Linked DNA regions of Homo sapiens: region 1 is linked to region 2. Evidence: promoter capture Hi-C in human tissues and cell types (Jung and others, 2019). All regions are on one chromosome and are shown on one strand. Each heading gives the region's core, a stretch centred on a gene start or on the middle of the fragment in contact. The rest is flanking DNA. Distances are from core to core; before and after follow the strand shown.

Region 1 (4,923 bases), core at 972-3,471, 190 kb after region 2:
CTGCTTCCCTTTCTTCCCATGCCTCAGTTGTTCCCTGTCACTGTTCTGCTGAATTCCACTGTTTTTTCTTGGATGCTGTCTTTGACATGTGATTATCTACCCACTGTTTAGTCCTTCTTTGTGGAGGAGGCAGGTGCCAGGTGCCCCTAGTCAGCCATCTTGAAGCCCCCTCCCCATCTCACTTTCTTGATGATGTTCTTTGAAGCACAGAAATTTTAAATTTGGCAAAATCTAATTTACCTATTTTTTTTTCCTTTGGTTGCTTTGGTTTTAGTTTTATATTTTAGAAACTGTTGTCTAATATAAAAGTATAAAGATTTATGCTTGCCTTTCTCCTAAGAGTTTTCCACCTTCATTCTTTTGTATGTATATATCCAGTTGTTTTAAGCACCATTTGTTGAAAATGCTTGAATGGTGTTGGAATCTGTGTCAGAAATCAGTTGACTGTAATATGTAGATTTCTTTCTGAACTCTCAATTCTGTTTCATTGATCTTTGTCTGTCCTTAGGCCACTACTACACTGTCTTGATTATTATAGCTTTGTAAGAAATTTTGAAATCAGAAAGTATGAGTCTTCCAACCTTGTTCTTCTTTTTCAAGGTTGTTTTGGCTCTTCTGATCCCTTACATTCAAATTCCATATGAATTTTGGGATCAGTCAGTCAATTTCTGTCAAGAAGTCAGCTGGGATTTTGGTAGGAATTGTGTTGAAATTGTAGATCACTTTGAGAGTAATGCTATCTTAATGTTAAGTTTTCTGATCCCTGAATAATGGATGGCTTTCCATCTGGAAATTGATTTATTTCAACAGTGTTTTCCAGCTTTTAGCACTTCTTTTGTGAAACTTATTCCTAAATACTTTATTCTTTTGATGCCCTTGTAAATTGAATTATTTTTAAATTTTATTTTTGGTTTCTTCTTTGCTACTGTGTAGAGATAGAATTAATTTTTGTATATTAATCTTGTATCTTACAACCATGTTAAACTCATTTATTAGTTCTAATAGTTGTTTAATGGATGTTTTAAAGGATTTTATATATAAAAGATCATGTCATCTGCAAACAGATATTTTACTTCTTTTCTTTCTAATCTGGATGCCTGACATTCATTGTTGATGAGCAGTGTCTTGAGAATCTGATTACCATTCCTTTATAGATATTGTTCTTTCTCTTCTGACTTTTCGGATTTTCTCTATATTCTTAATGCTCTGAAGTTTACCACAGTATAGCTAGATGTTTATTTTCTAGTATGGTGTTTGATATGTACATTTTCTGATTTATTTCACACTGAAAATAATATTATTGCTTTTTCTTGCTTGTATGAACAATACATGCACATTCCAAAAATGTTAGAAGCATAAGAAACAAGTTTAAATCACATGAAATCATATGCCCAGAGATAAACACTATTAGCATGTTTATGACCAGTAACCAGTATTATGATATATTGCATGATGCCTGTACATCCTCAGTCCATCAGTAGATCCTGCTGCCTTTACCTTGGAAACATATTTCAAATCCTGCTGCTTACCAACCAAATCTGTCTCTCCTGCTCTTATCCATGTCACCATATTCGCTTAGGACCACTATAATAGCTTTCTCACTGATTAATATGGTTTGGATGTTTTGTTCCTTCTAAATCTCATGGTTGAAATGGGACCTTCAATGTTGTAGATGGACCTAGTGCAAGGTGTCTGGGTCTTGGGGGCAGATCCCTCATCCGTGGCTTGGTGCCCTCCTTGTGGTAATGAGTGAGCTCTCCCTCTGAATTCACCTGAGAGCTGGTTGTTTTAAAGACTGTGGCACCTCCCCACATCCACATCCTTGCTCCATCTCTTGCCATGGATGTACCGTTCCTCCTTTGGCTTCCATCATGATTGAAAGCTCACTGAGGCCCTACCAGAAGCTGAGCAAATGTTGGTGCTATGCTTGTACAGCCTGCCGAACTGTGAGCCAATTAAACCTCTTTTCTTTATAAATTACCCAGTCTTACATATTCCTTTATAGTAATAAAACAGACTAACACCCTGGTCTCCTTCCATCCAGTTCTACTTTTCACACAGCATCCAAACAATTTCTTTTAAAGCATAATCAGATTATGTCACTCCCTGTTGAAGGCCCTCCAGTGGCTCCCCATTATAATTCCTTTGGTCTAAGAGGCCCTCAATGATATGGTCCCCGGCTGCTTCTCTGATCTCATCTCTGACAGTGTTCACTTACCATCTCACCCTCGCTTACTGTGCTCCACTAACACTAATATTCTTGCTATTTCAGGACATACCAAGAACACACTGGCCCTACGACTTTCATACTCGCAACTCCCTGTATTTGAAACTGCTCTCCGAAACTACCTGCCTGACTCTTGCACTTCATTCAGCTCTCTGTTCAAAGTGTCACTTCATCTGATACACCTTACAACCTGTGTCAGATTCTCTTATGACTCCCTTGATCATACTGTATCCCTTTAACCTGCTTTATTTTTCTCTGCCACTTACAGATATTATATAATTTCTCCTTATTTTCCTCTTCCCTCCCCACAGTATTGTAAGCTCCCTGTGAGCAAGAACTTTGGGATGCCCAGTTTTCCCTCTTTTTTCTTTTCTTTTCTTTTTTTTGAGACGGAGCCTTGCTCTGTCGCCCAGGCTGGAATGCAGTGGCACGCTCTCAGCTCACTGCAACCTCCACCTCCCAGGTTCAAGTGATTCTCCTGCCTCAGCCTCTAGACTAGCTGGGATTACAGGCACCCGCCATCACACCTGGCTAACTTTTGCATATTTAATAGAGACAAGGTTTCACCATATTGGCCAGGCTGGTTTCAAAGTCTTGAACTCGGGTGATCCTCCCACCTCGGCCTCCCAAAGTTCTGGGATTACAGGCATGAGCCACTGCGCCCAGCCCCTGACTCTTAAGATTATTTTCTGACATGGTACACTCAATAAATATTTATATTTTTGCAAACAATACATAATTTTATATAAATAGGATTGAATTACATATTACATTGTCCCTTTTAAAAACCAAAGTCGGCCGGATGCAGTGGCTCACACCTGTAAGCCCAGCACTTTGGGAAGCTGATCGCTTGAGCACAGGAGTTTGAGACCAGCTAGGGCAACATGGCAAAACCCCGTCTCTACAAAAAATACAAAAATTAGCCAAGCATGGTGGTGCATGCCTGTAGTTCCAGCTACTCGGGAAGCTGCAGAGGGAGGATCATTTGAACCCAGGAGGTCAAGGCTGCAGTGAGCTATGGTCCTGCCACTACACTCCAGCCTGAGTGACAGAGTGAGAACCTGTCTCAAAAAAACCCAACAAGGATAGCATTGTATTTTTACTTTTTGTTTTTGGTTTCTTCTCTCTCTTCCTGTCACCCCTTTAGATATCCAACATTAACCTGGTATGAATTCATTTATCCTTTTTTCTGTGCTTATATAATTGTTACAGGAATAAATATGCACTGGACATTTTGGGGGCATAATTTACAGAAAATTTATTCATGTGTTCAAATTATCTGCAATTTCCTAGCTTAAGTTTATGGTAGACATCCTCCATTCGACTGCCGTAGCTCTAACCTTATTGTTTTAAATTGTGGTTATCTTTTAAATTGTATTTCTTGTGCTTTTAATAAATGCAAGCTTAATGTAAAATTTTTAATAATTACATATAGATATATATGAAAATATATACATATTCATATTTATATGAAATATACCATAACTTCGCCTCCCAATCTGTCACATCCCACACATCTTCAAATAGGCAACTATTATCAGTTTGCTGTGTCTAATTTTAGATCTTTATCAATGCATTTGTATGCACATAGGTAGACACAGGGGTTTTTTTAGTTGTTTATATAAATATTACATAATGCATTTTATTCTGTCATTGTTTTTCTTTTTTCACTCAACATGTAACATAGTTCAACTCCATGGTTTTTATTGGTAATTTTTTTCTTGCTTATATACACAGAGACAATTTTATTTAAATAATATTATATATGTATTTTTGTTTTTTGTGAGAGATTATTTGGTTTTGCTAGATTCCTCTTTTCTCCCATCTTCCATTAACATCTCCATATATACTTTTATCTGAGGACTCCTATATTCTAGAAAATCTTTAACCTAATCCTTCAACTTTGCTTCTTTCTCATTTCTTCTATTTTTGTATTTTATGTTTTTATTTTATAACCTATTTTTCTTTTGCAATGTCTTATGATTTTCTTTAGCTATTGGAGCTGTGTAGCATTTTAAAGTCATTTTTATATTGCTCTATTTTCATTTCATCTGCAGTAAATTCCTCTCCCTGACATTGGTTATACTGGCTGTCTTTCATGGTTTTAATTTCTTCATGTATTTTAGACTTTTGATTTGCAAGTGCTTCTTGACTAGAATTTTTCATGTGCATATCTGTCTACCACTGCTTTCACTCCCTCTGTCTAGTAGGTTTGGTTGCCTTCCATCTGGCCCCAAACAATCCCAGGCTGGAGCCATATCTTAACACTGGCAACAGAGGGCCTCTGTCCCAGTGTGACACTGGAGATTGGTCCAGGCCCAGGCTTGGAGGCATTATCTGCTTCCCATCATTTCTGGTTTAGCTTTAAGTAAGCTTTGCTTCCTGGCAGCGGTTAGGAGCAGTTTTGTCTTTTGAGTTGGTTTTTTTTTTTTTTTTGAGACAGAATTTTACTCTTGTTGCCCAGGCTGGAATGTAATGGTTGCTCACTGCAACCTCTGCCTCCTGGGTTCAAGTGATTCTCCTGCCTCATCCTCCTGAGTAGCTGGGATTACAGGTGCCCACCACCACGCCCGGATAATTTTTGTATTTTTAGTAGAGGCGGGGTTTCACCATGTTGGCCAGGCTAGTCTCCAACTCCTGACCTCACGTGATCCACCCATCTCAGCCTCCTTAAGTGCTGGGATTACAGGTGTGAG
Region 2 (4,919 bases), core at 1,927-4,426:
AAAGTCTGGTCTATTCCCATTTTATAGATGAGAAAACTAAGGACAGAGATTTTAAGTGAATGACCTCACTTAAGTGAGGCACAAGGCTAGATGTCATACAACCAAGACTAGGATTCAGTTCCTTGATTTTTACTCCAAGTCCCTTCCATCCTAAGAGCACTCTCTCATAACATTCAAGGGTGCTGTGAGTAGCAAAGGAAGTTGACAATGCTCTGCCCTGATTCAAAAGGCAAGAGGAACACAACAATCAGTGATGAAATGTGATTTGCGGGTGGGAGGGTGCTGCGAGGAGGATTTATGGTTGGTCTAAGAGCTTCCTAACAATCGACTCTGGCCAGGCCTAAGATCAGCTGCCCTGGGAAGCAGCAAGCTCCCCATTCCCAAGAGGTCTTCAGAAAGAGGAGGGGATTCTGTTGAGAGGTGGGAGACTGGTCTCTACAAACAGCAAAATTCCATGATTCCCACATAGAGAATGCACCCCCCCCCGCGCACCCGCATACATGGTTGGAGGAAGGATAAAAGCACAATTAGAGGCAGGGTTGGTACGGGTGCTACTAAGAAAGGCAGCATGGGACAGTAGGAACAGGCGTTTTTTTCCTTGTGGTCACTTTTCTTCCAAGTTTAAGGGCTCTCGGCTCCTCACTGGAGGAAAAATTCTCAAGTCAGAACTGCAAACCAGGAACAAAGGTTGTTCTCATATTCAAGAACTCAGCAAGGGTAATTATGGTTGACACTAAAGCAGGCAAGATTCTAGTTGGGCACAATGAAGATCTCCTTGACCAGCAGAGTAATAGAACACTGTAACTGACTGCAGCAGGAAGTTTAGAGGCTCTGTCACTTCTCCAAGGACACACACAGCTTTCTGGCCTGCAGGCTCAGATGCTCAGCTGTCACCAGGCTGGGGAATCAACCAGATGGCCTTCCGGGTCTCAAGTCTGGCATTCCTAGACCTGCCCAGGAATCTTCTCAGCCGTACCAGCGTCCCCAGGGTCCAGGGGAAACCATCCGCCACGCTATAACCCCGAGGCTCGGCAGCATTTCTCCCCAGTTTGCATTTTGATGTTTCATATAACGTATCTACTCCCACCAGGGTACATCTCCCTCCCTCGGTAAAGATATCCTTAGCCACCAAACCCAAATGGCTCACTGGCTTCTCTCCAAGGCAAAAAGAGAGTTTCACTCCTCATCCTCTTTTTCTATCCAGTGAGACTAATTCATCATGTGTACTGGAAAGTCCCTTTTAAGTCTCAGCCAAAAGTCTTTCTTTTTTCTTGGAGCACAAATAAGCTGGGAAGAGAGAGAGAGAGTTCACCGTTTTGCAAGTTTCAGAGGTGAAAGTCACTGTCACACACACACACACAAAAAAACCAGAAAGAAAAGAAAAAAAACTGGCAAAAAGTCTGGAAATTATTCACACTGAGAAGTCTGACTGGTTGATTTCAAATTCATTCACAGCTTAATAAATCATTTGCTGGGGGAAGAGGGGAGCAGAGGAGGAGCAAGACACTCCAAAGAGAACAAGCAGGGTGGGATCCCTGGGGTCTGTGCATTCTTTGGCATCGCTGGTACCTGGTGGCTCTAGCTTTTGCTGAAGGAGGATGTATGTGGGGGTGAGTAAATAATAGAGTTTGGCTGGAGCTTCAAAGACACCTTGGCACAATCCAATTACACAGTCCCAGGATAGCAAGCCCGCTACCTCTCCCTTCCCCATTTCTTAGGCTTCCAATCTAAATATCTCAATTAGAAAAGGGCTGGCAGGAAGGAATGGGGAGAGGAAGGGAGTTTGTAGCAGGACTAGGAAAATGGAGATTGCCTGTGTTTGCTATGTATAGGCTGAAACGGTCCCATCGCTGCCTACCTACCCCCAGCCCCCCAACTCCGCCCTGGAAGCCACTGACCTTTGCCAAGAAGGCGGCGTTCCTGATGGCGCCCACCATTTCTCCCCCCTTAGGGTGCACCTTGGCCACGTGCATCCACATGCGCTCCCAGGTGTGGCTGTCGATGGGGAAGCCGCTCTTGTTGACGTGGAACAGCACCCCGCCGTCTTTGTCCTCCTCCTCTGAGCCCCCGCTGGTGGCGAGGCTCACGGGCCGCGCGTGGCTGCTCCGGGACCGGGTGCCTTTGGCGCCTTTGGGGTGGGGGCAGCGGTGAGTGTCGGCCGCGGAGCCGGTCATGGTGGGGCCTGGGCGGGGAGCGAGGTACTGGGGGCGCGCGGCGGCGGCAGCGGCGGCGGCGGCGGGGGGCGTGTGCGCGCGGGCGCGGCGAGGGGATCAGCGCCCCGCGGGGGCGGCCTTCTCCATGCCTCTCGCTGCGGCAGGACTCACCAAGGGGGAGCGGCGGCGGGAGCTCCGCGGAGGCTCCCTGCTTACCGGCGGTGCCTGAAATCAGCGGAGACACAGCTGACACCACAGCTAAGTGGACGCACAGCGGAACCGAGTGAGGGGTCCCGGAGTGTCTCCACGACACTCCCCGCTCCCCCCTGCACGCTGACAGCCTCCCTGAGAATCGATGACGGGCTTCCAGCCCTGCGATTACCTAGAAAGGCAGCTCAAAATGTGCCACGAAGCTTCACACACACCTAAACCCGGGGGGTTGGGGATGGAGGGGCACAAGGAGCTTGGGGGATGCGGAGCGCAAGATGTGGGGAGAAGAAAGACAGCTTGTGTAGCATGAAGGAACAGGAGGTTCCCGCAAGGCTCCACACATTCCTGGGTCCTCAGATGTGGCCAAGAGAGGAGGGGAGCCACGAACGTGCTGGCATGTGAGCGCCCAGAGCTGGCGCGAGGGCGCTGCAGCAGCCTTGGCTTGCAAGGCGGCCCGCTTTCTTCCAGGAAGCCCTCCCGGACCCCGGCGGGGATCTAGTGGAAAGAGCTCCATCCGCCCCCTTTTCCCCGAGTTCCAGCGCCTATCACCGGGAGGGACTGGCTGCAGGCGGGCGGCGCGCAGGAAGGGCGCGCGGCAGCTCCAAGATCCTACCTCGGGACGGTTGGCTTCATGGCTGCAGAGCCTCTCCGGGCGGCGGGAGAGCAGGGGCTGCTGCTGCTGCTGCTGGGCCTGGGGCTGGGGCTGGGGCTGCTGGGGCTTGCTGGGGCCGTCGCCTCATTCCATGTCCCATTCTCGAATGTTATTCTGTGACATATAACCAAGTCACCCGGGCAGCCGCCGATGTTCCGAATGCGTCTATTGGCCACCGCAACAAAGAGGGGCGGGTCCCGGGCTCGGGACTCTACAACCCCGGGCTCCGCGACGCTCTGATTGGCTCCAGGGGTTCTCTGGCGGGAGGGGACAGGAGTAGGGGGAGCCTGGCGGCCACGCGAAATCCGATCGCTGTGGTGTCCTGAGAGCCCCGCGGGCTGGAGCGTTTGGCCATGGGACTTAAGATCGAGTTTCCCCAGGGGTCGTGGCACTTCGAGGGTTTGCAACTGTGGAAGCAGAGGAGAAACAAAACCACCCGAGAAGTGACCCCGCGGAAGCAGAGGGTTTGGCATCAGAAGAGCATTCCCTGAGGGACGCTGGACACACTTACCTGCCTCTACCCGGGATGATGAGTTGTTCATCCTCTACCTGGGATGATGAGGGGCTGTTCATACCTATGCGTGAAATTAAATCTTTTTTAAATCCCGCATTTAAAAATTCCTCAAAATTAACAAGTGGGTGCAGCTTTGGATCCTCTGGTATTAGTCATGGTTAATAAAGTCCCTTTAAGCCCAAGTTGAGAGGAGACAATAAAACTCAAGAGGTCAGGCAGGCCCTGACTGTTCTGCCACAGCTGTTGAGTGAGAGGAGGGATGGAGAGATGCTTCCAAACCATGGTGAAGTGGGTGGCTATCCCACACTCACTACTGAAACACCTTCTCTTTCTTTTTCTTTAAGAAAGAGGAGAGCAGGTTGAGGTGGGAAGAGCACCAGACTGCTGACCTGAAGGCTGGCTCCTGGTCCAGGTTTGTCACTTTGCTCAGCTGTGTGACCCTGGACAAGCCACTTCCCTGCTCTGGGCCTTAGCTTCTCTTTCTGAAAGGAGAGCAGACCTCCCGCTCTCCAGGGTCTGTTCTGGCTGTAAGGTTCTGTGATTCCCTGACTTCCTCTCTTGTGACACTGAGGATCCTGGCCATAGCATCCTTTCTCTTTAAACTGCAGGCCAGCAGGCCAGCTCTGAGCAAAGCAGTTATGAGACCTATGCTAAGTGAACCTTGAATTAAGAAGACAGTTGTCAAAGTGCCACTGATGGCGGGTCAGTTTCTGGATGCTTATCCTGACAAGTTGCCTGTCATGGAACTGGAACTTCTCTTCCACAGGAGGGCAGAGACCCCTGAGGGGTAGTTGAGAGCCAGGGCTTGGGTGAGGAGACCTGGATTCTGGACTTAGCCCTGCACTGCTCCCTGAGACAGAGCCCATGCCAAGAACTTTATAGATTCAATAATGAGAATAGGGCAGACGTGGTGCCTCACACCTTTAAACCCAGCACTTTGGGAGAAAGAGGAGGAAGGATTACTTGAGGCCAGGAATTAGAGACTGGACCAACATAGCGAGACCTTGTCTCTACTAAATAAATATTTTGAAATTAGCCAGATGTGGTGGCACACACCTGTAGTCCCAGCTACTCAAAAGGCTGAAGTGGACATGTAGAATGAAACTGGATCCTCGTCTCTCACCTTACACAAAAATCAACTCCAGATGGATCAAAGACTTAAGTCTAAGACCTGAAACCATAAAAATTCTAGAAGATAACATGAGAAAAACACTTCTAGACATTAGCTCAGGCAAAGAAATCATGACTAAGACCTCAAAAGCAAATGTAACAAAAATGAAAATAAATAAATGAGACCTAATTAAACTAAAAAGGGTCTGCACAGCAAAAGAAATAATCAGCGGAGTAAACCGACAATCCACAGAGTGCGAGCAAATATTCACAAACTGTG

What was found. Contacts are between HindIII fragments. The study calls those that stand out against the background at their distance.
Region 1: a fragment that was not itself captured here is called in contact with the fragment with the promoter of VASH2 in region 2 in 1 of the 25 tissues and cell types used here (small bowel).

What each region holds. Positions count from the first base shown.
Region 1 is chr1:212,754,510-212,759,432 of GRCh38, reverse strand. All of the region lies in intron 4 of NSL1 (NSL1 component of MIS12 kinetochore complex), which reads left to right. Among named protein-coding and RNA genes, the nearest start is that of NSL1, 35 kb to the left of the region's middle. RefSeq lists an enhancer at 1-29. The HindIII fragment of the contact is 3,788 bases long and covers 328-4,115 here.
Region 2 is chr1:212,948,798-212,953,716 of GRCh38, reverse strand. VASH2 (vasohibin 2) reads right to left here and starts at 3,176. Exons shown (of 8, transcript NM_001301056.2): 1 at 2,977-3,176; 2 at 1,899-2,378. The coding sequence starts at 2,174. RefSeq lists enhancers at 2,471-2,520, 3,041-3,190. The HindIII fragment of the contact is 12,745 bases long and covers 564-4,919 here.